Linked DNA regions of Homo sapiens: all the other regions are linked to region 5. The links are contacts of gene promoters, found by promoter capture Hi-C in blood cells and fetal thymus (Javierre and others, 2016). All regions are on one chromosome and are shown on one strand. The core of a region is centred on a gene start or on the middle of the fragment in contact, and the rest is flanking DNA. Distances in the headings are between cores, read along the strand shown.

Region 1 (4,043 bases), core at 22-2,521, 280 kb after region 5:
GCTCATGAGAGAAGGAGAGTAGAAAAAAATAAGGAATGTCTTAGTATAATTATAAAAATGACTTTGACCTCATGGATCCCCTGAAAGGGACTAAAGGGTACCTCAGTGGCTCATACTTTGAGAACTGCTGTTCTACAGCATATCAAAGTTCTAGAATTAGACTTCCCTAGGTTCAAATCCCTGCGCTACTACTTGCAAGCTGTGTAGCCTTAAACAAGTTAATCTACCTCTCCAGACCTCCATTTTCTCATGTTTAAATGAGGATGACAAAATATTACCTTGAAGGATTCAGAGAGGATTAAGTGAAATAATACCTGTAAAAAATCACAGCCCAAAGCTAGGCATATAGTGAAAGAGATCAACTGGCTCTATTCTATTAACAAGTGGATGAGGAACTGGGGCCCAGTAGGGAAGTCACTTGTCTGAGGTCACACTCAACAGATGTTGGTTCCCTTTTTCCCAGGCACTGTGCCAGGGTTTCTACTTGAGTTTAGCTGTATCAGTCATGGGCTGCCAGGAGCACTGGATTTTTAAGTGTCATTTTCACTGTCCCTCATGGTGGTAGGACAGAACAAAGCCCTCATAGAGGCAGGAGGTCAAGAGAGAGGAGCTGCAAGTGTGGCCATCTTCATGTGACTGTGTGCTACCCTCCACGTCACTTTCTGACTCCTCTTGCAGTGTTCCAAGACCCTCTCTAACCCTATTTTCTACAGTTCCTCACATGCCCTCTCTCATTCCCCCAGGTCCACTGTAGCCTCATTCATTCTGTTCTCCTGGTTTCAAATTCTCTATATCCTTTCTATTGTCATGAAAATTAAATAAAAGGCATATGGGGCTTAGTACTGAAGCTGACTCGCGGTTACACTCAATTAAGTGTGAACTGCTATTAAACCCATCACTCCCCACTTCTCTTCCATTAGATATCTCTGACTGGTCTAATTACATTGAAGTCTCCTATTTGGCTAGTCCTACCAAAGTACTGACATCTCTCAATCAGCTATCTTACTGAATAAAGTATCAGTGTTTTCGAACTTAAAAAAGCAAAGTTGGTAGACATCTCTCAAGTGGCTGTAGAAGTGCAAAGACTCCTCCATTCTTTGAAAGAACAAGTCTCTACCTTTAAAAACATTCTTATTTGTTCAGAAGAACAACTTCTATTATAGACATGCTTTGCTCTTTTAAAGGTGCTATTAAAAATTATCCCATTTTACAAACTTGGTTTTAACCTCATTTTACATGCGAGAAACTAAGTGAGAGAAATTAAAATGGCTTGTACAAGAACACATAAGAAATCACTCATAATGCCGGACTGTGGACTGAGGTTTCCAGACTCCCTCTAGACTTGGCAAACTTAAGAACATCCCTGCAGCTGGGCACAGTGGCTCACGCCTGTAATCCCAGCACTTTGGGAGGCCGAGGCGGGCGGATCATGAGGTCAGGAGATCGAGACCATCCTGGCTAACACGATGAAACCCTGTCTCTACTAAAACTACAAAAAATTAGCCGGGTGTGGTGGTGGGCACCTGTAGTCCCAGCTACTCAGGAGGCTGAGGCAGGAGAATGGCATGAACATGGGAGGTGGAGCTTGCAGTAAGCAGAGATCGCGCCACTGCACTCCAGCCAGAGCAACAGTGCAGACTCTGTCTCAAAGAAGAAAAAGAAAAAGAAAAAAAAAGAACATCCCTGCTTAGGAATCAGACATTTGTCCTGATTATTTTTTACTGGAAGGAACCAAAATTTAATAGATTGTGGTCAAATGGTTCTGCTATTCCCTTCTAAAACGTGGTGCCTAGCAGTCCCCAGGGATATCGCCAGCAAGACCCTTGCTTTCATCTAAATATGGGAGTTCTCCATTATACAAAGACCTCAAGCCAGGATGAACATAATTCACTTTGGCTTTGGGAGTAGCCCATAGAGGAAATGCCTAACACCAGGAGTGGTGTTCTGGTCAGTAAGGCCAGCCATCCTTGTGACCAAACAGATATTTTGAAGAGAAACTTGTTTTCAATTCTTGTATTGCTTTCTAAGAGGAGAAATGTGTGAGTCAGAGTGAAATCCAAACAAAACTCTCATCTAATTTAGGACACTAATGAACACATTTTTGTTTTCTTTATCCTTGATTAGAAACATTTTAAAGTAAGAGGATGTATTTTAAAGACAAAGGGGTTTTCTGGCAATTTTGTAATGTTACACAATCTCCTTCCCTGTCTACTAAGAAAGAAAACAGAATTCTGCAGCACCTTCTTTAGGAAAAATAGATGATAATTAACTGTTAACCATTTTCATTTCATGTGAGAAGTGTGGGTACAGCTGCAGGGAACTTCCTGAGGGTATGCAGGTATTTTTCTCATAGACTATTTACTCAGTATCTTGAATGCTCCAGGAGAGACAGGGTCTAAAAATTGTAATACAGCAAGATTCATTGAGAACAAACAATCATACCCATTGATAAATTTTGGATTTAACATTTTGGTGCATCACTAAGCTGGTAAAAGGCCATTCCCTCATGCGTGAGTTTTCATTTGAGATATCAAAAATGTACAATTGGTTTGGGATGAGATAATCACGGCTTCCATTTCAGATCCCACTATTTACTGCATATGGGACTCTGGTAAGACAAACTCAATAAAGCTTTTGTCTCAGGCTTTGATTTCTAGAAAACTGACCAAGACACCCCTTTTGAGCAAGAATGATAAATCTGAGCCACAGATGTGACAGCTTTTTATCAATAAGAATGATTGCATTAATAACTATTTCTGATGGGTGTATTTCAACTGCTTAGTGTCCTCTCTATCTAGAAGTGTGACAGGCATCTCACACCTGACATGTCCACCTCCATCACCACACACACCACATTAGCAAACCTGCTCCACCCACACTCTTTCTCATCTTGGTCAATAGGAGTTCCCTTCACCCACTTGCTCAGGCCAAAAATATTGGCGTTATTCTGAGTCCTCTTTTCTCATACTTCATATTGCATTTATCAATTTCCTACCTTCAAAATACATCCTAAATGCAACCATTTTTCTCTACTTTTGCTCCAACTACTGTAGTCCAATCTAACCTAGGTTATGAATCGTGTCTTCACTAGTCTCCCTGCATTTGTTTCTGTTCCCCACAATCTATTCTCTGCATCAGGATCCAGAGATATCCTTTAAAAATAATAGTCAGACAATATCATTTCTCTGCTCAAAGTCCTCCAAAACATCTTATCCTGGAATAAATTGAAAGCACTTACTAACGTCCACATGGTCATGCACGGTGTGGCCTCACTCTGACCTCACATCTCACCCATACTACCTCTCACTTACTCTGTCAGGACTACGCTGGCCTCCCTGTTCTTTCTGAAATGCCAAGAAGGGTCCTGCCTGGGATTTTTGCCCTTGCTGTTCCCTCTGACCAGAGAAACCATGTGTCGCATGGCTAAGTCTTCACGCAGGTCCCAGCTCCCCCTAGGGCTTCCATGACCACCCTATCAGAAATGCATTATTCTGTGTAACACACAAAGAAAATGTAAGCCTATTGAAAGGGGGAACTTTTGTTCAATGCTGTATCATGAGCGCAAAGAAGAGCGCCTGGCACATAGCAGGAACTTAATAACTGTTTGTTGACTGGATAGATAAAGATCAGAGACCAAGGAAGACTGCAGCCTCCTGCAAGTTGGCAACAAATAGCACCTGGGGACCATGAAAGAACAGGTTATCATAATGTTTATGTCTTTGCTTCCCAACACTCTCCAGTCCATACAGGAGACCTGCTGCATCTAGGGTTGTGAAAAGATGAAGAGGTCAGTGAACACAATGAAAATGTTCTAAAACTGGACCATGTGGATGGTTGCACAACTATATATATATTTACTAAAAGTCATTGAATCGTAAACTCAACATGGATGATTTTTATGATAGATAAATTATACCTCAATAAAACTGTTGAGAGAGAGAGAGAGAAACAGAGATGAAAAGATACAGAGAGACAGAGACACACAGAGGAAAAAAGTGACCAGGAGTAAAACAAGGGCTCAGGATGTAAATATTCCTAGGCCT
Region 2 (3,751 bases), core at 959-3,458, 370 kb after region 5:
TAATTTAATTTTAAAATAGGCAAAAAGACCTCAGTAGACATTTCTTGAAAAACATAAAACAGAAATGGCCCATGGGTATATAAAAAAGTTCAATATCATTAATCATCAGATAAATGCAAAGCAAAATTACAATGAGATATCATCTCACCCCAGTTGAAATGGCTTTTATTCAAAAGACAGGCAATAACAAATGTTAATGAGGATGTAGAGAAAGAGGAACACTTGTACACTGTTGGTGAGAATGCAAATTAGTACAGACACTATAAAGAACATTATGATGATTTCTCTAAAAACTAAAAATAGGACTACCATATGACTCAGCAATCCCACTGCTGGGTATATATCCAAGAGAAAGAAGATCAGGATATTGAAGGGATATCTGCATTCCCATGTTTATTGCAGCACTCTTCACAATAACCAAAACATGGAATTAACTTACGTGATTACCAATGGATGACTAGCTAAAGAAAACGTGCTGTATATATATAATGAAATGTCATTCAACCATAAAAAGGATGAAATACTGTCATTTGCTGTAAGATGAATGGAACTGGATGACATTATGGGTAAGTGAAATAAGCCAGGTGCAGAAAGACAAATATTGTGTATTCTTACTCATGTGTGGGAGTTAAAATAAAAATCGATTTCATGGAGGTAGTAAATATAACGGTGTTTACCAAAGGCTGGAAAGGGTAGTGGAAAAGGGGGGGGTGAAGAGGGATTGGTTAATGTATAAAAATATAGTTAGATAGAAGGAATAAGATTTAGTGTTTGGCAGCACAATAGAGTGCCTATGGCTAACAATAGTTTATTGTATATTTCAGAGCTAGAAGAGAAGATTTGGGATGTTCCCAACACAAAGAAATGATAAATGTTTGAGGTAATGGGTATCCCAATTACCCATATGTGATTATTACACATTGTGTGCAAATATCTAAATGTCATATGTAATACATAAACATGTACAACTATTATGTATCCATAGAAAATAATAAAAAACAAAATTAAATGTTAAAAAGCCAATATAGATGATTCCTTAAATACAATTCCCTAAGAGAAACCAGACCCCAAAGACTATATATTGCATGATTTCATTTAAATGACTTTTTGGGAAAGGAAAAATTCTAGAAATGGAAACTAGGTCAGTGATTTCTAGGAATTGTCAGCTGGAAGAATTTGATTACAAATTCTAGGAATTGTGAGCTGGAAGAAGTCCAGGTTCCATGGCTCATGCCTGTAATCCCAGCACTTTGGGAGGCTGAGGCAGGCAGATTGCTTGAGCTCAGGAGTTCAAGACCAGCCTGGGCAACATGGTGACACCCCGTCTCTACCAAAAATACAGAAAAAAATAGCCGAGTGTGGTGGTGTGTGCCCATGTTCCCAGCTACTTGGGAGGCTGAGGTGGGAGGATCATTTGATCCTGGAGAGCAGAGATTGCAGCAAGCCCAGATTGTGCCACTGCAACACAGTCTGGGTGACAGAAAGAGAACCTGTCTCAAAAAAAAAAAAAAAAAAAAAAGAAGAAGAAGAAGAAGAGAAGAAGAATAAGAAAAAAGATAGAACAAATGAATTTTGGAGGTAATGTAATTGTCTCATATGGTACTGTGATGGTAAACACATGACCATGCATCTCTCAAAATTTCAGAACTGTATACCACAAAGGAAGACTTTCACTGCAAGCAATTCTTTATAAAGCAATCAGATGTGGATGGAACCCAATATGGAATGTAGAATGTGAAAAATAAATCTAACTTTATTATACAGAATGGCATACCCTCATTGAAGAGGGTGGTAAAGAAAGGAGCTGACATAAGATACTTTGGAAAACAGCATTTTTAGTGGATTCTGTAAGGCTAAAAAAAGCACTGTACAAAACATTGTAGTCTAATTGATAAATTTGTTTTTCAGAAGAGGGTAAGTTAGAATTGAAACCACTTTAAATGTAGACTAGGTCAATTAGATAAATATATTTTAGATATGAGCAACAGGTTTCTCACTGTCAGAGAAAAAATTTATAAATAAACAAAAAAGGAATGCCAGAATTAACCTTGAAGAGCTGGATTGGATCAGTAGTAACACTATGAATCTTGTGGATTTTTAATAGATAGCTAGAGAAATAAATGTATATGTGAGTATATACTAACTCACTGAGAAGATCTAGAATTAGTGATACCCCCAACAGCAATGAACACAACTAGTGTCCAGATTGCGGTTTCTAAATACCTTTTTTTTTTTTTTTTTTTTTTTTTTTAATATATAGGGTCTTGCTCTGTCATCCAGGCTGTGGAGTGCAGTATTGCAATCATGGCTCACTGCAGCCACAACTTCCCAGGCTCAAGCAATCCTTCTACCTCAGCCTCCTGAGTAGCTAGCATGTAGACCATGCCCAGTTTTGTTGTTGTTGTTATTTACTTTTTGTAGAGATGGGGGCCTCACTATTTTGCCCAGGCTGGTCTCAAATTCCTGGCCTCAAACAATCCTCCTGCCTCAGCCTTCCAAAGTGCTGGGATTATAGGCATGAGCCACAACACCCAGCCCCTAGCTATTATTCTTAAAAAGAACCAGGACTCCTTAGGCAAGTGATTGATTTCAAGGCTGTGACAGGAAAAATACAAAATAAGACTGGATCATCTCACATTGCCAGAAAGTAATGAGGTGCAAAAAAACCACCAAAAAACAAAAAATGGAGGCTTGTCAAAATGTCATGGAAGTCAATTTTAAAAAGCTCCGAATGACTAAAGCTGAAACAAAAATAATGAAATAAAGTATTGAATTATAACCTAAAGAATAAAGTAAATATCTGTGACTCCACACAGATATAAATAAATGATTAACCATAAATAACTGATAGAGAAGAGACAACTCCACCTTACAGAAAAATCATATTAATAAGTAGAAAAATGAAGAAAATTTAAAAATAAATATTAGAACACTACTGTAATCATTGCTACTGGCAAGGTCCACTAATTAATGCTAATATTTGTGAGTAAAAGTTTAAGAAGAAAGAGGATATTTGCATAATTTCAAAGTGCCTTCCTTCAAATATTTATTGTTACATAGAAAACATAGTAATTTAAAGTGGAGAAGCCTTCAGATACCACAATAACCAGATAATTAAGGTTAATTTCACAAGGAATGACATATTAACATCATGTTATGCACTGGGAGGGTTCTAATACCTCTGTAATATTCTTCCTTAAAATGAATAACCTCGGGAGAAAGAAAGATGGCTGACTAGACATAGCCAGGGGGAACAGCTGCTACTGAGAGACCGAGACAACTGGTACACTCCTAACAGATCTTCAGAGGGAAAGCACTGAGAGTGGATGGAGGGAAGATACAGAAGCTGGACTGAAGCAGGAAGAACCTGGGAATCCTGCATGGGGCTACCATGAACTGGGATTTGTTTCTGGCCCCCAGTGACTCCAGGGGAATGGGTGAGTTGAACTGTCAAGGAGCAAGGGTTCTGAACCAGGCTGAGATGGCTGAAATGACAGAAATAGAATTCAGAATATGGGACATTTGTGGTGGCTCATGCCTGTAATCCCAGCACTCTGGGAGTCTGAGGTGGGTGGATCACCTGAGGCCAGGAGTTTGAGACTAGCCTGGCCAACATGGTGAAACCCCATCTCTACTAAAAATACAAAAATTAGCTGGGCATGGTGGTACATGCCTGTCATCCCAGCTGCTCAAGAGGCTGAGGTGGGAGGATCACTTGAACCTGGGAGGCAGAAGTTGCAGTGAGCCAAGA
Region 3 (3,693 bases), core at 1,180-3,679, 350 kb after region 5:
TATGTACTGCTGTGCACCAACTAAATCAGAAAGGATAAAAGGTCTTCAAGTGTGATCGACCTCACATAATTTTTACTCTTAATTCTTTTTGCCAAATGTGAGGTCCCACTATGCATCCTGAGATATTTAGACCCAGTTCCTAGAGAACTCTAAGAACAAGACCTTTGAGGGCACCACTGACTGCTGACATGATAAACACCAAACATGTACGAAAACAAGAAGCTTTGGACTCCTATTTAAATCACCATACCTATGATTTCATTTATTTCCTCCCCATTCCCTTTCTCCCCACCCCCAACTTCAATATATTTTCCCACTAAAATATTATAGTATCTTAAGTGGATTAGATTATCTACAAGGGGAAATAAAGAACAGATGGTGAAATTTCTATAATATTTATACCCCCTCCCTTCCCTGCCACTGCAGTTATACAGAAAGTACATGAGTCACTTTCAAAGACCATGAAAGTTACATAGCCTTGTTAAAAGAAAAGCTTATGCATATTAAATTTAACACAGTTTGATTGAGCAAAGAATAATTTTCAAATCAGATGGCCCTTAAAACCAGAAGAGGTTCAGAGAGCTTCAATGGGCAAGGTGGGCGGGCAATGTTTATAGACAGAAAACAGAAGTGAGGGACAGAAACAACTTGATTGGTCAAACCTCTGTGTTCCCCTGATTTGGTCAAAGTCCCATCAGTTGACAGCCTGTGACTGGCTGAAGCTCAGCTACTGCGATTGGCTGAGACTCAGCTATCTATAACGTAAGTATACCCTAGTTAGGCTTTTAGTTTGTTTATGTACCAAGCTAGGTTGCAGTTTGTTTTGTAGGGACCCCTAAGAGGCAGCCTCAGGCCAAACTTAGTTTAATTCAACAGCCTTGAACATCAAGGTTTGAGATGAGTTACAGGTGTTATAGAAAAAACACCTGTAAGAGAGGAACTCAGAAGTCATCTAGATGAATCTTTAGCCAGGCATTGCTTAAAACTCAGCTTTGCAGTTTTTGAGTTAATCTTTAACTTCTGAAACTGTTAACACCTTGCACTCAGTCATTCTATGCAAATACATGACTGAATAACCCTTATTTCCTACCTAATATGCCACAGCGCATAGTCTAGCCTGGGCTTTTGTTCTGCTTGTTGGAACCTCCTTGTGCCACAGGCTTCCCCATCCAGCTGCATTCGCCTGGTCCATGAAATGCTTACGGAAAGTTATGCCTTTGTCTTGTCTTCTGTCTTCCATTGTCATGGCACCAATCCCAGAAATGCCACCTTAAAATAAAAATAAAACAAACTTGAGCCATTGAAGCTTCAAATCTACAGTGCCCTCCAGCAGTGTGAAATTCAGGGTTGTGTGGTTTGGCACAGTAAGCAAGCAGTGGGGCTCATCTTCATCCTTCCTGAGAGCCTTCTATTTAAAATCACCTTTGTGATCTGGATCTCTGAATGCCTTCCTATTTGCTACAAATGTCGTTTTCTTTGCGAGAGCAAAATACTTTATGATCGCATGCATTGAATAATGATGCTTCATTGGATTCATCCATTTAAACCAAAAGTCCCAGCTCACATTTCACATCCTCAGCTACTTCTCCATGACAGGAAGTATTCAGGATTGTGACCATACAGAGAGGCTTACCTGTCTTCACTCTACTCTGCAATTTCTATTGCCTCCACTTCCTGCTTTCTGTCCTTCATTTCAGGTCCCTGTGCTGCTGGAGTTGTGGGAATCAAGATGCCTCGTTATTGTCTATTTGGAGATACGGTCAACACAGCCTCTAGGATGGAATCCACTGGCCTCCGTAAGAAGGGAGACTGTTTTTCTCAGAGGACAAAGATGCTGTTTTCCAGCAGAGGGCAACTGTGAGATAAAATGCACAATAAGGAGATACAAAGTGCCAGTGAGATGTAGAATAATTCTTCACATTAGCTGAACACAAACCCGTGTCAATCCACCTTTTGCTACATTTGCTTTCATTGTTGTTTACTGATAATTATTTTATTCTTCCACTTTTGCTCAGTTTTAGACTATTTCTATATTTTTGGCTCATATACAATGAATCTGGGGATATTCTACTTAGAATAGTCCTGGCATTTACCATAGATTCATGAAAGTTAAAAAAAAATCAGTAGGCAAGGTAAGAACTACACACTCTGGTTCACATTCCTGTTTCCCTCTTATTTGGTTTTGCTTTTTTGTTGTTGTTTTTTAGAGACAGGCTCTCGTTCTGTCACCCAGGCTGGAGTGCAGTGACACGATCATAGCTCCCTGTAAACTTGAACTCCTGGGCTCAAGTGATCCTCCCACCTCATCCTCCCAAGTACCTGGGACTACAGGAACATACCAGCACATCCAGATAATTTTTAAATTTTTAATAGAGACTGGGTCTCACTATGTTGCCCAGGCTGGTCTCAAACTCCTGACCTCAAGGAGTCCTTCCACCTTGGCCTCCCAAAGCATATTCGTTTTTTCTGGAAATTGATTTTTGTTTATTTGTTTGAGATGGGGTCTCACTCTGTCGCCTAGGCTTTGGCACAGTGGCACAATCACAGCTCACTGCATCCTTGAACTCCTCAGCTCTAGTGATCCTCCCACCTCAGCCTCCTAAGTAGCTGGGACTACAGGCATGCCACCATGCACAGCTAATTTTTTAATTTTTTCTGTAGAGGTGTGGTCTCTCTATGTTGTCTAGGCTGGTCACAGATTCCTGGGCTCAAGCAAGTCTCCTGCCTTGGTCCCCCAAAGCCCCAAAGTGTTGGAATTACAGGCAAGAGCCATCATACCCAACCAAGAATTGATTTTAGTAAAGAAAAATCTAAGCATTTGTTATATACGAAGGAATATATTGCATTTGCTTGGCAAGGTAGAGGCACAATGTGCTGCATGAAGTAGATGCTCAATAAATATTGATGACAGTGGTAGCAGTAGAAATATATAGAAGAGAGAAAATAAGCACTGGGAGACATGGCTGGGGCTTACGAAACCACAGGAGGCAGGATGGTATTTTGGTAGTGTACTGACAATGTGATACTAGTTTGTCCTGGCAAATCATGCTGGCAAGGAAAAGGATAAGGTTGGGGTCAGACAGACTTGGGTTACAATTGAAATTATGTTAATCATTCTCAGTATAAGTTGAGTAGAAAGCTACCTGATCCTTCTAGCCCTCAGAAAGATAAAGATACAAATTGAAAATGGAATACCAACCGTGCCAAGAGGGTTTCTGAAATAATTTGGGATGATGTCATGTTAAGCGTTTAGCAATCATGGTACATGGTAGGTATACAATTTGGGATTGTCATTATTCTTACTGTGTAATTGTTTGTGGTATTGCTATTAGGCCCCTATATTGGGAAAGGTGATACACATCAATGGACTTGTGAATGGGCGTGCCCTCACCACTTCTTTTGTCAAAGGATAACAATGTTCCAGAAGAAGGAAATTTGAGAAAATCAAGACCCCTCAACTCTCCCGAATCTTCACCTTGCCCACAAGGCTTTAGCTATTTATTGGAACTTTTCCACAGGGACCCAAAACCAAACTCCAACACCCAAGCTTGGCACTACAAGCCAAATCTAAAACTAGGTCCCGCAGGCTACTACTCTGAGCTGGAATGAGAATCTATGGAGAAAAACCTAGGGATCCCCATCACATCACGCAGGGCCCTGAAAACTGATGCCAGGCCTTCTTTCTTCCCACGT
Region 4 (3,534 bases), core at 614-3,113, 480 kb after region 5:
TGATCTACTTACTTCGTACTTTAAGAGGTAAATTTGAGAATGAAAATGGGAGACTCCAATGCAATAACACCTACATAAGGAAAAACACACATAAACACCCACACATATTCCCCAGCCTCAAAACTAAAGCAAGGTACACATTTACATTTCCAAACCCCAAAGCCTAAACTGTCCAGGAAAAGATTCTAGCTTTGTGGGCTGAGTTTATTTTGCTTCTGGTTATAAACAAATGTAGTGTATACACACATCTGTCCAAGAAATCTTGCACAAGGTGGATTTTACATGGGGTATCATGCACAAGATTAAAAACAAGACCAAAAGGTGGAAATTTTAAAAGAGGAAAATATAAAGGCTCCAAGGTTTAACTGCTCTGGGTAGAAGAGATCACATCTGTTGACTGAGGATCACAGAAAGGCCCAAAACGTCCATAAATATCCTTGGCTCGTACTGCAAAGTAGTATTTGCTACCAGATACAAACTGGGTGAGAGTACATGCCATGGGCAAGGGAAGTGCCTTGACTTCCCCAATCTTTTTCCATTGTGAGGGCACAGTGGCACTGGGTTCCTCATGGTAAGCATAGAGATGGTAGCTATCAACAGTGGCACAGCTTCGATCCACCTCCAGGACACTCCATGACAGTACTATGCCATTTTGACTCTGAACGCGTGCTAACTTCAAGTGTGGCTTCTGAGGCAGAGATGTGCTGGCAGCTTCTGGGGGCAGACGCTGTGGTTGTGGAGCTTCTGGTAAGGGTGCTGGGTGCACGGGGCGTGGGGGCTCCTGAAGAAACAGGTCACACTGATTAATGATGATTGCAAAAAGAACTATTTTAGAATGTTAGAATTAAAACACCTTAGAGAACATACGTAGAAGTATCATTTTATATCAAGAATTCTAGGAAATACCAAATACCATATCAAATTTGGCAAGTTCTATTTGGGGTTTTGTAATGAATCATGCTACAAACAATGATGCTGAGGTTATTCCTACTATACTTCCTAGACCTAAAATATTTTGAGTTTTTCTTAGGAAATAAAAAGCCCCTGCTGACGGAACATCATTTTGAGGAACACGGAAGTAATGATCTATTTCTAACAAAATAATTTATGATTGAATTATCTATGTTACAGATTATCATTTCAGTATGATGTAACATTTTTAAATATCATGTATGGCAACCAAGATCATATAAAATTGGAGAATACAAATATACTTTCATTTTTAAGTTATTTATAAATAAGCACATTAACACTAAATGTGTACTATATTCTTGGCCAATTTACAAGAAAAAGGTGATATTTAAACTCAACTGTGAAGGAGGATCCAGAGATGCAGAAATAATCATGTACCTTTCAGCCAAAAATAAAGCATGAGCAAAGGCATGTGGACAGTAAAGTGAGGGGACGTATGGACAAGAACAAGTATTAACTTTTTCTTGGACATAGGGTACATGAAGAAAAATCTGGAAAGGTAGGTTAAGGCCAGATGATGAAAAAACATGACTCTAACTTTAGGAAGTCCTATTGACTTTTCTAACACTGGAACATCATCATCATTATAATGATATTTCATACCAGTCAAACACTGACAAAATTGTGTCACAGGATAATGTGACATTGTTTTGGAGGCTAAATCTAAGGAGAAATCTTTGGTTATCTCTGTTACCTCTTAACTAATGAATTCCCAATATCATTGGATTCTTTAGAACAATTAATTGATGACAATGTAGCAGTTAGATGTGGCATAGTTTAGAACGAAAGAATAAAATTAACACATGGAGAAATGAAAAATGTCCTTTTTAATTTAACTATGAATTAGAAATGGTCTATATTTCACTTCATATACCCCAACTGTGGACCTGTTTTTGTACACTGTACACCACAAGCAAACTCAATGATTCTAAATGATCATCATCCCTAGGAACTATGTGTTCATAATGGTAAGATCAATTTTTAGAAATAAACTTCTGAAAAAGCAGGAAGACCTAACACTTCCCTTGGATATAACCATTTTAAAGAAAAATGCCAAATACAATAATATTTTATACCTCTACAGTTGAGAATTTTGCAAAACCAAGCATCAACACTTACAGTATGCACTTGTGGTGGTCGGTGATGCACTGTGAGCTGAGGTCCTGTTGATCCCAGGGTTAGTCCATTGTTTACAACATATGTGGTTGTTTGAGGCACTCGAACTGTAACACCTACAAACAAACAAAAAAATTACAGGATAAAATGATAATTCTATTGTAAATTTGGTGGAAAACTGATTAAATATTTGAAGGCAGTGAAGCAATGTTTTCAAGATTCGAAAGGAAAGATATTTCTAACCTAGAGGTCCTGTTCGTATTCAGCCAAGCTATCAATCAGCCTGTGGATAAAAAAACTTTCTTACATGCAAGCACTAAAAAAAAATTCTAACTACCACAAACCCTTTCTCAAATAGTCAATGGAGAATATGTGCCACCAGTACGTGAGAAAATAAAGAGAAAAACACGAGACACAAGCAACAGGAGGTCCAGCACAGGGAGAAATAAATGGATCGTTACCAGGAGAACTATGAACAAAAATCCTAGAACACTGGTTGTGTACCACATGTAAAAGGTAAATGGCCATAATGGAGCAGTGTGACTCAAAAGACAGACAAACTGGGAGTATCTTCATAAAAATCTCTGCAGTCTCATCTTTTCAACCAGGACAGAAAGCCAGAATAAGTCATCCTTGCCATGTATTAATGAGGTTCCTCTCATTTTCTCCATGCCCAGCTCCTTGGTTGAGGATACTCACTTCACCCCACAGAAAACTGCTGTGACATACACCAGGGAAACAAAAAGAGAAAATTTAGAGCCACCTACTGCCCTAACTATATTCCTGCCATTTATTCAGTACCTGGCCCATGCTGTAGTTCGGCCTGGTTCCTGGACTATAGTGAGCCAAGTTTCCCAGAACTCATTTCTAACCTTGTTGATTAATTTTCCCAGACAACGCTCTTGTAAACTTGAGAGAGTTGAAGCCAAGCTATGATCCAGGGACTCCAATCAGTTTATTTTCTAAATGATAGCATTACTGTGTTTCTTTAAATAGCTATATTTTCCCTTGCTGTCACATTTTGCAAAACTACAACATATGTGTGATGGTTAATACTGAGTGTCAACTTGATTAGATTGAAGGACACAAAGTATTAACCCTGGGTGGGCCTGTGAGGATGTTGCCAAAAGAGATTAACATTTGAGTCAGTGGACTGGGGAAGGCAGATCCACCCTTCATCTGGTGGGCACAATCTAATCAGCTGCCAGAAAATATAAAGCAGGCAGAAAAACGTGAAAAGGAGAGACAGGCTTAGCCTTAGCCTCCCAGCCTACATCTTTTTCCTGTGCTGGATGCTTCCTGCCCTGGAACATTGGCCTCCAAGTTCTTCAGTTTTGGGACTCAGACTGGCTTCCTTGCTCCTCAGCTTGCAGACAGCCTACTGTGGGATCTTTTTTTTTTTTTTTTTTTTTTTGAGACAGAGTCTGGCTCTGTTGCCCAGGCTGG
Region 5 (3,945 bases), core at 509-3,008:
CCCTTGCCATACACCAGAGGGGCAATTATCATCTGCCCTCGCTGGGTAATTCTCTGCTTCCTTCAAACACCCCGACTGTTAACTTATTTCTGGTCTTAAAATTCTGTCTTAAGAAGCTTTCCTTGAATTCCTTTGACACCCCAACAGCAACCCCGAAGAATTTAAAAATCACACGTGACATCCATATTCCCCAATGATACATCCCCTTTTTTCTTGCAAGTTTCTTTTGCATTTTTACATAATTTTGAAGTTACACCTCTAGGCTTAGAAAGTGTTCATGTCTGAGTATGATGCATTATATGAAAGAAGCCTCCTCAGAAAGAGTTACATAACAGTTGCCAGGTTAATCCCTTGATCCTAATGGTGCTCAGGATTTGCACTAGGTAACCGGAACAGTCGACTAATCCCTATGCAGTTTCTGTCATAGATTTACCCTCCAATTCTCTCTGCAAAACCTTTAGGAAGGGTAGAACACCTCTGACCTTTTCCTGCATTGGAAGCCAGTCCTGTTGTCCATAAACATCACCAAAGGCTAACCTCATGCTGACCACACCTTTCTAGAAATTCTAAGGGCATCTGGAGCTGAGTAACCTTAAATGTATTATCAGACTTGATTTTAGCTGAAAGAAGTTTCATATTTTTTCCTCCAAAAGCATTAGGCAATTTATTCTTTTGTGAGCCAGAACATTTTCCTGTATTTAAAGCAATGTTAGCCCTTCCCCTTTTGAAGATTACAAACTGTTTTTCTGCAGAAATAAGTGGATGCAGCAAAGTAATATTTCAAGGCATACTTTTTTAGGGGACTGGGATTAGGGTCAACTTAACAAAGTTAAAGATTTGTATAAAGCAAAAAATCATCTTCTGTTTCTTTATACAGCAAAGCCCAGCTCTATATAGTGACAGAGGATGATCCTCTGAAAAGCAGTTTTAGGAGGTTCCTGAGACAGCTCTCTGATGCTGCTGTTATCACCTTACACTTCCAGTTCTCTTTTTCTCAGCAAAGCTATAGACAGGTAGACCAGTCCATTGTTGGTGGACAAAGAAAGAGGCAGGAAGGAGCTGGGAAGGGAAGTACTGCTGGGGTTGAGCCCATAAATATCACCCAGGGTCCTGCTGAGGCAGAGAAAATCAATAATTTGAAAAGCAAAGCAAGACCCAAACCAAAGCCATAAAAAAAAAATTACCAAAATTCCAGCCAGCACCCTGCTTCAGAATGGAACAAACACTTGACCTCAAAGGGAGAAGGCTCAGCCACCTGCCCTGCCCTGTGGTCATTCTCATGCTCTCAGCTCCCCTTCTCCTTTTCCTCACACTCACACCATCCTGGGCCAAGTTTGCAGGCACATCCTGGGAGTAAAGAACTGTTTTCTCTGTGGTTATTTAGTGCCACAGATTCCTCCTTCTTCAGAAAACTGTTTACTATGAAGCTGCAAACAGGGAGGTCACTATTGGGCTCCTTCTAAATGAATTCAGTAATCAAGTTTTGCAGTGACCTTGTAATAATCAAGTTTCACTTATTTGCTTGTCCCATGGCATAACAAGAAGGTCTGCATGTATCTCCTTCATGTTCTTTCCCATTTTCATCCCCAGCCACAGCCCAGGCCCACAGGTCCAACATGTTTTCTTCTGCAATTTTTCTTTTGGAACCTGATCAACCCCCCAAAGCCCTTCAATTATCCTGCTCAAATTCACCAGAAGTTCAGAAGTACTCACGGAGCTGAATGTTGTTCCTATCAGCTGCCCAGCTGCCTTCTTTGCAAAAGACAAAAGGATCTTTGCATCCTGACTTATCTCTCTGTAATACCCTCATGCTGCCTAATCTCACCGTCATAAGCTCAGAACAGCAACCCAGGTGCAAAGAAGTTAGGAGAACATGGGTTGATGCTGGGACAGGCTTAGGAGTTTTCCAATAATTAGAGGCCCTTTCAAAACTGACTTGGGTTCATTCCAGTCAATAAATAGGTATTGTATTCACAAAAACACAAAAAGTGTTGATATCCAAGGGTAAATTTCAGTTTGTGATTCAATATCTTCTGTCTTTTTTTTATTCTTACCTTTAGATTTCAATACCCCCATTTCTTCCCTTTCTCTGACAAACACACACCTATGTGCGCAATCACACACACACATATACACAGTGACATAATTCTTATGGGGCTCTAGATAACTGGAGAGAAGAGAGGGAGCCACAGTGCCTCCTGCTATACAGGGACATTGAACATGCGGGCAGTGACATTGGGAAACACACAGTATGTCTCCCTAACTGGTATTGTGCGAATTTCCTCAGAGAGATGGAACCTCAGAGTCAAAACTGATATCTGACACAGAAAGGGCCCAAATGACAGCTAGGAATTGTTAACTGAGGACACTTATTTGAGAATCGATTGCTGGATCTTCCGTACCTAAATGTTTCAGGGTGTAGGGTCTAGGGTACAATCCAATTTACTGAGACTCCTTGACTCAGTCTTCCTATTTTATTGATCCACTAGTATTAATTATTAATAGATTAATACTTTTTGTATTTTAAATAGATCTCAACCCATATGGTAGTTATCAGTAAGCTCTTTTGATAAATTTATCATAGAAAGATTAAGTGACCTATTCAAGACTGCAAATAAAATTAATAGTGGAGCCAGGAACAGGGCCCAAATCTGGAAGTACCTTGCATATTCAATTGTCTTTGTGCTGCACTACATCAAAGCAGACAGAGACCAAGATGTCTGTTTGCTGGTCACTTCCATGCCTTGCCAGTGAATTTCAATGTTCTTTCCCCAGTTGTTACCTATTAGAAAATTACACTCCATAACATTACAGAGAAAGAAGGTCAATTTATCCTTTCTAGACAGGGAGAGGTTCTTAACCTGCAGCCCTAAGCAGATTACATGAGCAACTAGACAGCTTGAGAGTCATTCATATGCTCTCCACTGGTCTTTACCAAAATTCCTCTGAGTTTTGAAAGCAATGATTACCTTGCAAAGCCAGGAAAGTGTTTGGTCTCTGGATGAGTCCCTCTGCTCCCTCCTCTGTATCTCCATTACCATTCACATCTTCCTTTACTATTACATACCAGGCACGTTAATGTTCAGATGCTTATCTGTCAAACTTTTACATATTCTCCATTTTCTTGATGAAAGAATACAAATTTTAAGGACAGTGGAAAGTGCCAAAAGCTGAGTGAATGTTCTAGAATGTTGTTACTCAAAGTGCAGCAGCAGCAACACCATCTGTGCACTTGTTAAAAATGCAGGATTTCAGCCCTGCTCCATACTTACCGAATCAGAATCTGCTTTTTAACAAGGTCCAAGGTGATGTGTTTGCATATTAATGTTTGAAAAGTACTGTTCTAGACCCATATGCAAGCTTGGGTTTACCACTTATCTGCTATATGTCACCTCTCTGAGTCTCAGTTTCCTCATATGTAAAATGAATGATTTAGAGTGTTGGGGTTCTCAATTTTTTTCCATCCCAGTACACTTGAGAAAGATAATCTTGCAATTCTCAGATTCTCAATTTTTGAATATGGGGGTGGTTGTGCCATAAGTCTTCTTCCTCCAAAGGAAATCCAGGAGAGAGAAGAGGGAGAGATTAGGAGTGTGGAGAAAGTCTAGGTGTATAGTTTGAAAAATTCTCCTAAAGCCACTCTAATATGGTTCTCAGGGGTTTAGAATTAGAAAATTCTTAAATTACTCTACAGTCTTAAAAATCTATGTTCCTTCTTGTTTTGGACCAAGTAAAGTAGACACATTTCCTCTCATGCCTCTTGCTAAGTACAGCTAAAAATCCTGGATACTATATATGACAGAAATATGGAATATTTCAAAATATTTGAGAGAAGAAAAACCAAAGACAGGCTTTAGATGCGAGGAACAATATGGCAGGAAGTTTCCTGAATTTTCTTTTTGTATATCCGGATGTTGATGCAGGAAAAGACAGTAACCCAAAAAC
Region 6 (4,011 bases), core at 1,205-3,704, 340 kb after region 5:
CTGGGTTCTCTATTCTGTTCCATTTGTTTATGTGTCTGTTCCTGTGCCAGTAACAGGTTGTTTTGGTTACTGCAACTTTATAGAACATTTTGAAATCAGGTAATGTTATGCCTCCAGCTTTGTTCTTTTTGCTTGGGATTGCTTTGGCTATTTGGGCTCTTTTTTGGTTTCGTATGGATTTTAGGATTGTTTTTTCCATTTCTGTGGGAAAATGACAGTGGTATTTTGATAGGATTACATTGAATCTATAGATTGCTTTGGGCAGTATAATCATTTTAGTGATATTAACTCTTCCAATCCATGAGCATGGGATATCATTCCATTTGTTTTTGTCCTCTTCATTTTCATCAGTGTTTGTAGTTTTCCTTATAGAGGTCTTTTACCTTCTTTGTTAAATATATTCCTAGGTGGTTTTTTTTTTTTTTTGGTAGCTATTGTAAATGGGATTGTCTTCTTGATTTCTTTCCTGCTGAGTTTATTATTGGTGGTATATAAAAACACTACCGATTTTTGTATGTTAATTTTTTTTTGAGACAGAGTCTCACTGTGTTGCCCAGGCTGGAGTGCAGTGGAGTGATCTCGGCTCACTGCAACCTCCGCCTCCCAGGTTCAAGCAATTCTCCTGCCTCAGCCTCCCAAGTAGCAGGGATTACAGGCAGCTGCCACCAAGCCCAGCTAATTTTTTTTTTATATTTTAGTAGAGACGGGGTTTCACCATGTTGCCCAGGCTTGTCTCGAACTCCTGAGCTCAGGCAATCCACCGTCCTTGGCCTCCCAAAGTGCTAGGATTACAGGTGTGAGTCACCGCACCCAGCCTGTATGTTAATTTTATATCCTTCAACTGTACTGAATTTATCATATCTAAGAGCTTTTTGGTGAAGCTTTAGGTTTTCTAGACGTAAGATCATATCATCTGCAAAGAGGGACAATTTGACTCCCTGTTTTCCAATTTGGATGCCTTTTATTTTTCTTGCCTAATTGCTCTGGCTAGTACTTTCAGTACTATGTTGAATAGGAGAGGTGAAATTGGGCATCCTTGTCTAGTTCCAGTTCTTAGAGGGAAAGCTTTCAGCTTTTCCTCATTCTGTGTGATATTGGCAGGTTTGTAGTATATGGCTTTTATTATTTTGTGGGTGTGTGATATATGGCTGGCCTTTATTATGTTGAGATATATTCCTTCTATGGCTAGTTTTTTGAGAGTTTTTATCAAGAAGAGATGTTGAATATTATCAAATGCTTTTTCTGCATCGATTGAGATGATCATATGGCTTTTGTTCTTCATTCTGTTGACGTAATGTATCATGTTTATTGATTTGCATATGTTAAATCATCCTTGCTTCCTGGGGATAAATCCCACTTGATCATGGCGTATTATCTTTTTGATGTACTGTTAGATTCAGTTTGCTAGTATTTTTTTTCTTGGAGGATTTTTGCATCTATGTTCCTCAGGGATATTGACCCATAGTTTTCCTTTTTTGTTGTATCCTTGTCTGGTTTTGGTATGAGGGTACTGCTGGCCTTGTAGAATGAAGGAGAATTCCCTATTCAATTTTTTTGAATAGTTTGAAGAGAATTAGTGTTAGTTCTTCTTTGGAAGTTTGGCATAATTCAGCAGTAAAGTCATCCAGTTCTGGACTTTTCTTTGTTGGGAGACTAGTGATTCAGTCTCATTACTCATTGTTGGTCTGTTCATGTATTCTATGGTATTCTATTTTTTTCTGATTCAATCTATGTAGATTGCATTTATCCAGGAATTTCTCCACTTCCTCTATATTTTTCAGTTTGCTGGTATATAGTTGTTCATAATAGTCTCTGATAATCTTTCACATTTTTGTGCAATTGGTTTTTATGTCTTTTTCTAATTTCTGATTTTGTTTATTTGGATCTTCTCTCATTTTTTTCTTGGTTAGTCTAGCTAATGGTTTATTGACTTTGTTTACCTTTTCATAAAAACAACTTTTTATTTCAATGATCCTTTGTATTATTTTTTCAACCTCTATTTTGTCTAGTTCTACTCTGACCTTTATTATTTCTTTCCCTCTACGAACTTTGGGTTTGGTTTATTCTTGCTTTTCTAATTCCTTGAGGTGCCTTGTTAGATTTGAATTTTTTCTGATTTTTTGATGCAGGCATTTATTCCTATAAACTACTCTCTTAGCAGTACTTTCGCTGTATCCCATAAGTTGTGGTATGCTGTGTTTAAATTTTCATTTGTTTTAATTTTTTATAATTTCTCCTAATTTCTTTATCGACTCAATGGTTATTCAGAAGCATGTTGTTTAGTTTTTATGTATTTGTGTAGTTTCCAAAGTTCCTCCTGGTATTGAGTTCTACTTTTATTCCATTGTGGCCTGAGAAGATATTTGATATAATTCTGGTTCTTTATAAATATGTTGAGACTGGTTTTGTGTCGTAACATATGGTCTATCCTGGAGAATGTTCCATGTGCTGATCACAGGAATGTTTATTCTTTAGCTATTGAATGAAATGTTCTGTAAATGTTAGGTTCACTTGTTCTAACGTGCAGTTTAAATCCAATGTTTCTTGGTTAATTTTCTGTCTTTATGATCTGTTTAATGCTGAGAGTGGAGTGTTGAAGTCCCCAACTATTATTAGATTGGAATCTACTTCTTCCTTTAGATCTAATAGTATTTGCTTTAAATGTCTGTATGCTTCAATGTTGGGTGTGTATATGTTTAGAATTGTTATATCCTCTTGCTGAATTGAGTCCTTTATCATTATATAATGACCTATGACCTTTGTCTCTTTTTACAGTTTTTTACTTAAAGTCTGTTTTACCTAATATAAGTATAGCTACTCTTGCTTGCTTTTGGTTTTCATTTGCATGGAATATCTTTCCATCCCTTTACTTTCAGTCTACATATTTCTTTACAGATAAGATGAGTTTCTTGTAGGCAGCCTACAGTTGGGTCATTTTTAAAAATCCATTGAACCAGTCTATATCTTTTAAGTGAAAAATTTTGATCCATTTACATTCAAAGTTATTATTATGTAAGGGCTTATTCCTTTCATTTGATTAATTGATTTCTGGTTGTTTATACATCCTTTGTTCCTTTCTTTCCCTTGTTTTTCATTATGGTTTGTGGTTTTCTGCAGTGGTAACCTTTGAGACCCTTCTCTTCCCTCTTTGTGTGATTGCTTTACTAGTGGGTTTCATACTTTCATGTGTTTTCATGGTGGTAGATGACATCCTTTCACTTCCAGGCGTAGGACGCCCTGAAGCATTTCTTGTAGGGGAGGTCTAGGGGTGATGAATTTCCCTAGCATTCACTTGCCTGGGACAGCCTTTATTTCTTCTTCATTTATGAAAGATAAGTTTGCTGGATATAGTATCCTTAACTGGAATTTGGTTTTTCTTTCAGCACTTTGACTACCTCATCCCTTTTCTCCTGGCCTGTAATGTTTCTGCTGAGAAATTCACTGTTAATCTGATGGGGGTTTCCTTATAAGTAACCAGATGCTTTTTTCTTGCTATTTTTAGAATTTTCTCTTTAACTTTTGACAATTTGACTATAATGTGCCACGGAGAAGATCTTTTTTAATTATATGTATTTGGGGATCTCTGAGTTTCCTGTATCTGAATGTCTAAATCTCTTGCTATTATTTTGTTAAATGGGTTTTGTATTCCTTTTGTTTTCTCTTCGCCTTTTGGGACACCAAAAATTTTAAGTATTTAGCCACTTTATGGTGTCTATATCATGTAGGCTTTGCTCATTCATTTTTGTTCTTTTTTCTTTATTTTTGTCTTATTGGATTATTTCAAAAGACCTGTCTTCAAGTTCTGAAATTCTTCTGCTTGATCTAGCATATTGTTGAAGCTTTCCAATATATCTTGTGTTTTATTGAATGACTTCTTCAGTTCCAGAGTTTGTTTTATTCTTTTTTATGGTATCTATTTCTTTGGTAAATTTCTCATTCATATCCTGAATTTTTTTTATTTCTTTGTATTATTTTTCTGTATTCTCCCATATCTCACTGAGCTCCTTTAAT
Region 7 (4,064 bases), core at 277-2,776, 400 kb after region 5:
CTTTCAGGCCCTATTGCCACTCCCGCAGGGCTCAGAGGGGTTTGAGAATGAGCCAAACGACCCAAGAGTATCCAAGTCAGGATGAAGAGGTTGCCAAGTGTGTCAGAAACAGCTGGCTGCCTACCAGAAATGCGCGCTCTTACTTCCATACCGAGCAATGACATCCCAGGTAGAGGCTGCATTTCCCAGTCTTGTTAGCATAAAGATAGGGCAATATGTCTAGCTCTGCCAATGGAAGGTAAGCAGAAGTTATTAAGAAGCAGGGGTGCAGCCAAGCATGATGGCTCATGCCTGTAATCCCAGCACTTTGAGAGGCCGAGGTGGGTGGATCACCTGAGGTCAGGAGTTCTAGACCAGCCTGGCCAACATGAGAAAACCTGATCTCTACTAAAAACAAAAATTAGCCAGGCATCGTGGTGCATACCTGTAGTCCCAGCTACCCAGCTACTAGGGAGGCTGAGGCAGGAGAATCGCTTGAACCCGGGAATCGGAGATTGCAGTGAGCCGAGATAGGACCACTGCATTCCAGCCTGGGCGACAGAGTGAGACTCCATCTCAAAATATATATATATATATAAATAAAAACAAAAAAAGAAGAAGCAGGGGTGAGGGGTGCTTTTCTCTTCCCATCGCCAGAAGACAAGACTCCATAGCATTATGGTTCCCGCACACAGTTTGGCAACCACAGTGAATGCACAGAGTGTACCTGAGAATATAGTAAATACTCATGGGAAACAGTAGTAGCACAATACACTATAATCAATCAACGGAGCTCTCTGGGATACTTTAAATGTTTGAGGGACATGTAGCACCATCTGTAGGATACTGAGCAAATGACTACTATTGCATTGTGTGGCTCTAACTACTTAGTAAAAAGAACTGTTAGGTATTTCTTTTGGTCTGCAGCCCTAAAAATATATTACTGACACTCTACGGGCACTATAAACCAAGAAAGCATGGGAACTTCTGCCTTAGAGAATGACAGAGCCACAAGATGAAAGATAGGTGGGTTCTTAAATTTCTACATGGAGGAAAGCCACTTACTGATTAAGAACTCCCACACTGGACTGGCATACAAGACACCAATAAACTTTTGTTGCATTAATCCAATGAACTTTTGGAGTTTATCTGTCATCATAGCTAGCATTACATTAACTAATACACAGAGTATCTGGAAATCTAAATCCGAGGTCAAGGTAAAGCTGCAGATACCAACAGCAGATGCCTATGCACTACAATTCCTGCAGACCGAATGAGAAAAAAAGCTATATCTTAGTGGAGGCCACTAAGCCAAGAGTATGACTCACAGAGTAAATGTCCCTTATTTAGTACCAAGTCAATACATAAGCCCCCGAAGCTAAGGTCATCCTTAAGGAAAAATGGTAAGGACATAAAGAAGGCAAAGGACACTAAGGATTTGGTCCAAATGAAATTGCGCAACCTTAAATCTGGTATTTAAAAATTTTTACTGGTTGGACTCACACCTGTAATCCCAGCATTTTTGAAGGCCAAGGTGGGAGGATCACTTGAGCCCAGGAATTTGAGACCAGCCTGAGCAACATAGTGAGATCCTGTCTTACAAAAAATTAAAAAAAAAAAAAAATTACCATCAGTGGATGTGTTTGAATGCTAAGTTAATTACACTTTTTTGGAAAAGAAACAAATTTACATTTTGGATATTTCATTCTGGAACTGTAACTGTAAAATTTTCAATCCACCACATACATGTTACAGCAAGGAAAGAAATATAGAGGCCAATAGAGACCACTATCTTTGTTTCTGCAACTGGTCACCTGGCTATAGATAATTATATGTGACTTCTCTTCTCCACCTTTTTTCCATGTTCCCCTTGCTTTGGGCCAGCAACTCAGCTGCTGGGATTCTTTGCCCATTGGGATGAGGAGTCTGAGTCCCCAGTGGTGCTTCCCAGGTGAGATTATGCTCCCAGTCCTTTCATTTTGTTTTGGTTTTGGTTTTTTGAGATGGAATCTCTCTCTGTCATCCAGGCTGGAGTGCAGTGGTGCGATCTCAGCTCACTGCAACCTCTGCCTCCTGGGTTCAACTGATTCTCCTGCATCAGCCTCTCAAGTAGCTGGGATTACAGTCATGAGCCACTATGCCCAGCTAATTTTTGGTATTTTTAGTAGAGACGAGGTTTCACCATGTTGGCCAGGCTAGTCTCGAATTCCTGATCTCAAGTGATCCACCCAACTCGGCCTCCTGAAGTGCTGGGATTACAGGAGTGAGCCACCGCATCCAATGCTCCTACTCCTTTTGATAGTAAGGCAAAATTACCAATACTACAATCCTATTCTTAACCATTCAAACATATTTTTATGTTTTAAGAGGAGCTCAAAAAAGACCAATTGCAATTCAGTAATGCACTTTCAAATTCCAATTCAATAATACTTCCTTATTGTGTCTCCTGGTAGAAACACCTCCACCCTTGGCTCACCAAAAGTTGGCATTCCTGCACCAAAAGTTGGTACAGGAAGAGAATAATGGACGCTGAGTAGCCCCAAACCACACAAGTCCATTATAGAAGTGATGAGAACATTTCGCAGCTGGCATCTTTGGTTCTCCTCATTGCAGCTTTAGTATGTGAATCCAAAAAATCTGAGACAGGTCTCAGTCAATTTAGAAAGTTTATTTTGCCAAAGTTAAGGACACACCAGGGCCACAGCCTCAGGAGGTCCTGACAACATGTGCCTAACGTGGTCGGGGTACAGCTTACTTTTATACATTTTAGGGAGATATGAGACATCAGTCAATACGTGTAAGATGTACATTGGTTCAGTATGGTAAGGCGAGACAACTCAAAGTGGGGTATTCCATGTTAGAAGTAGAAAAGAGACAAAATGTTACATTCTTTTGAATCCTTGATCAGCCTTCCACAGAATACACAACTTAGTCTGGCCCAGGGAGTCTGCATTTTTACATAAACAATACTGCAGAGGAAGCAATCAGATGTGCATTTGTCTCAGGTGAGCCTCAGAGGGATGACTTTTAAGTTCTGTCTTCCCTTTGTCCACAGGGAATTTCCTTGTGGGCAAACTGTGAGGGAGGTATGTAGCTTCTTATCTTTGTAGCTATCTTATTTCAGAATAAAATGAGAGGCAGGTTTGCCTGACATAGTTTCCAGCTTGACTTTTCCCTTGGCTTAGTGATTTTGGGGTCCCAAGATTTATTTTCCTAACTATGTGTGAGTTTTGCAGCTCATTTTCCTCCCAGATATGTAAAACTGGCATAATTTAAAGAAAGCAAGATTTATCATCTAATTCAGTGATTCTCAACTAGGGGGCAATTTTGCCCCCCTACGGGAGCATTTGACAATGTCTGGAGACATTTTCAATGGGGGTGCCACTAGCATCCAGTAGGTAAAGGCCAAGGGGTGTCCAGGACAACCCCCCCACAACAAAGAGTTGTCTGCTCCAAAATTTCAATAGTGCTGATGTGGAGAAGTCCTGATCCAATTAATTTGTTTATATGTATAATTTGCTCCCCACTACTGGAATGCAAGCTCTGCAAGGGCAGGGACTTTGTTTTGTCTACTGCTCTGTGCTTGGAACATGGGAGTCAACGAATATTTGATGACAAATAATAGATGAATGAATGCCTCAAGGTTCACATTAGGCATTTATATGCATCTTACTTCATCAGAACACTTGGCTCCTTGGATCAGAAGGGTTAGTAAGGTGAAGGAGGGTGGTATAGGGCAATATGACTCAAATATTTGGGGTGGCACCACTTCCTTGAACATCCTAATGTGGTTCTCTTCCCATCATAACACAACCAAAATTTTCATTTTTGGTTCATTTTAATTTTCTAACTTGAAGGAAAATGTGCAACTTTTACAATGTCCTCGATGTCTTCATTTTAATTTTTCTTCATTTAAATTTTCTAACGAAGGAAAATGTGCAACTTTTACAATGTCCTCGATGTCTTCGTTTTAATTTTTCTTCATTTTAATTTTCTAACTTGAAGGAAAATGTGCAACTTTTACAATGTCCTCGATGTCTTCATTCATTAAATGCCATTAAACATAATTGTGACTTTAATTTTAA

The links. The method cuts DNA at HindIII sites, captures the fragments that hold promoters and counts their contacts. A CHiCAGO score of 5 or more calls a contact.
Region 1: a contact is called between a fragment that was not itself captured here and the fragment with the promoter of PDE6H in region 5, in 1 of 17 cell types (neutrophils). The highest score is 5.5, in neutrophils.
Region 2: a contact is called between a fragment that was not itself captured here and the fragment with the promoter of PDE6H in region 5, in 1 of 17 cell types (neutrophils). The highest score is 6.9, in neutrophils.
Region 3: a contact is called between a fragment that was not itself captured here and the fragment with the promoter of PDE6H in region 5, in 1 of 17 cell types (neutrophils). The highest score is 7.7, in neutrophils.
Region 4: a contact is called between a fragment that was not itself captured here and the fragment with the promoter of PDE6H in region 5, in 1 of 17 cell types (neutrophils). The highest score is 7.8, in neutrophils.
Region 6: a contact is called between a fragment that was not itself captured here and the fragment with the promoter of PDE6H in region 5, in 1 of 17 cell types (neutrophils). The highest score is 8.5, in neutrophils.
Region 7: a fragment that was not itself captured here is called in contact with the fragment with the promoter of PDE6H in region 5 in 1 of 17 cell types (neutrophils); the score reaches 13.2 in neutrophils.

What each region holds. Positions count from the first base shown.
Region 1 is chr12:14,688,165-14,692,207 of GRCh38, reverse strand. The region is part of intron 1 of GUCY2C (guanylate cyclase 2C); the gene reads left to right. The region is part of intron 4 of GUCY2C-AS1 (GUCY2C antisense RNA 1); the gene reads right to left. Among named protein-coding and RNA genes, the nearest start is that of GUCY2C, 6.4 kb to the left of the region's middle. The HindIII fragment of the contact is 2,724 bases long and covers 1-2,633 here.
Region 2 is chr12:14,598,785-14,602,535 of GRCh38, reverse strand. The region is part of intron 2 of PLBD1-AS1 (PLBD1 antisense RNA 1); the gene reads right to left. Among named protein-coding and RNA genes, the nearest start is that of PLBD1, 33 kb to the right of the region's middle. The HindIII fragment of the contact is 4,698 bases long and covers 1-3,751 here.
Region 3 is chr12:14,617,314-14,621,006 of GRCh38, reverse strand. GUCY2C (guanylate cyclase 2C) reads left to right here. Exons shown (of 27, transcript NM_004963.4): 24 at 1,698-1,796. PLBD1-AS1 (PLBD1 antisense RNA 1) reads right to left here. Exons shown (of 6, transcript NR_120465.1): 5 at 1,634-1,855; 6 at 1,252-1,269. Among named protein-coding and RNA genes, the nearest start is that of GUCY2C-AS1, 46 kb to the left of the region's middle. The HindIII fragment of the contact is 2,241 bases long and covers 1,309-3,549 here.
Region 4 is chr12:14,494,901-14,498,434 of GRCh38, reverse strand. ATF7IP (activating transcription factor 7 interacting protein) reads right to left here. Exons shown (of 15, transcript NM_018179.5): 14 at 2,092-2,204; 15 at 1-781. The coding sequence ends at 362. Among named protein-coding and RNA genes, the nearest start is that of PLBD1-AS2, 33 kb to the left of the region's middle. The HindIII fragment of the contact is 5,948 bases long and covers 1-3,534 here.
Region 5 is chr12:14,970,855-14,974,799 of GRCh38, reverse strand. It overlaps PDE6H (phosphodiesterase 6H), which reads right to left and starts at 1,758. Exons shown (of 4, transcript NM_006205.3): 1 at 1,714-1,758. The HindIII fragment of the contact is 3,244 bases long and covers 119-3,362 here.
Region 6 is chr12:14,633,612-14,637,622 of GRCh38, reverse strand. All of the region lies in intron 19 of GUCY2C (guanylate cyclase 2C), which reads left to right. Among named protein-coding and RNA genes, the nearest start is that of GUCY2C-AS1, 30 kb to the left of the region's middle. The HindIII fragment of the contact is 2,774 bases long and covers 1,068-3,841 here.
Region 7 is chr12:14,569,350-14,573,413 of GRCh38, reverse strand. All of the region lies in intron 2 of PLBD1-AS1 (PLBD1 antisense RNA 1), which reads right to left. Among named protein-coding and RNA genes, the nearest start is that of PLBD1, 3.5 kb to the right of the region's middle. The HindIII fragment of the contact is 5,629 bases long and covers 1-4,064 here.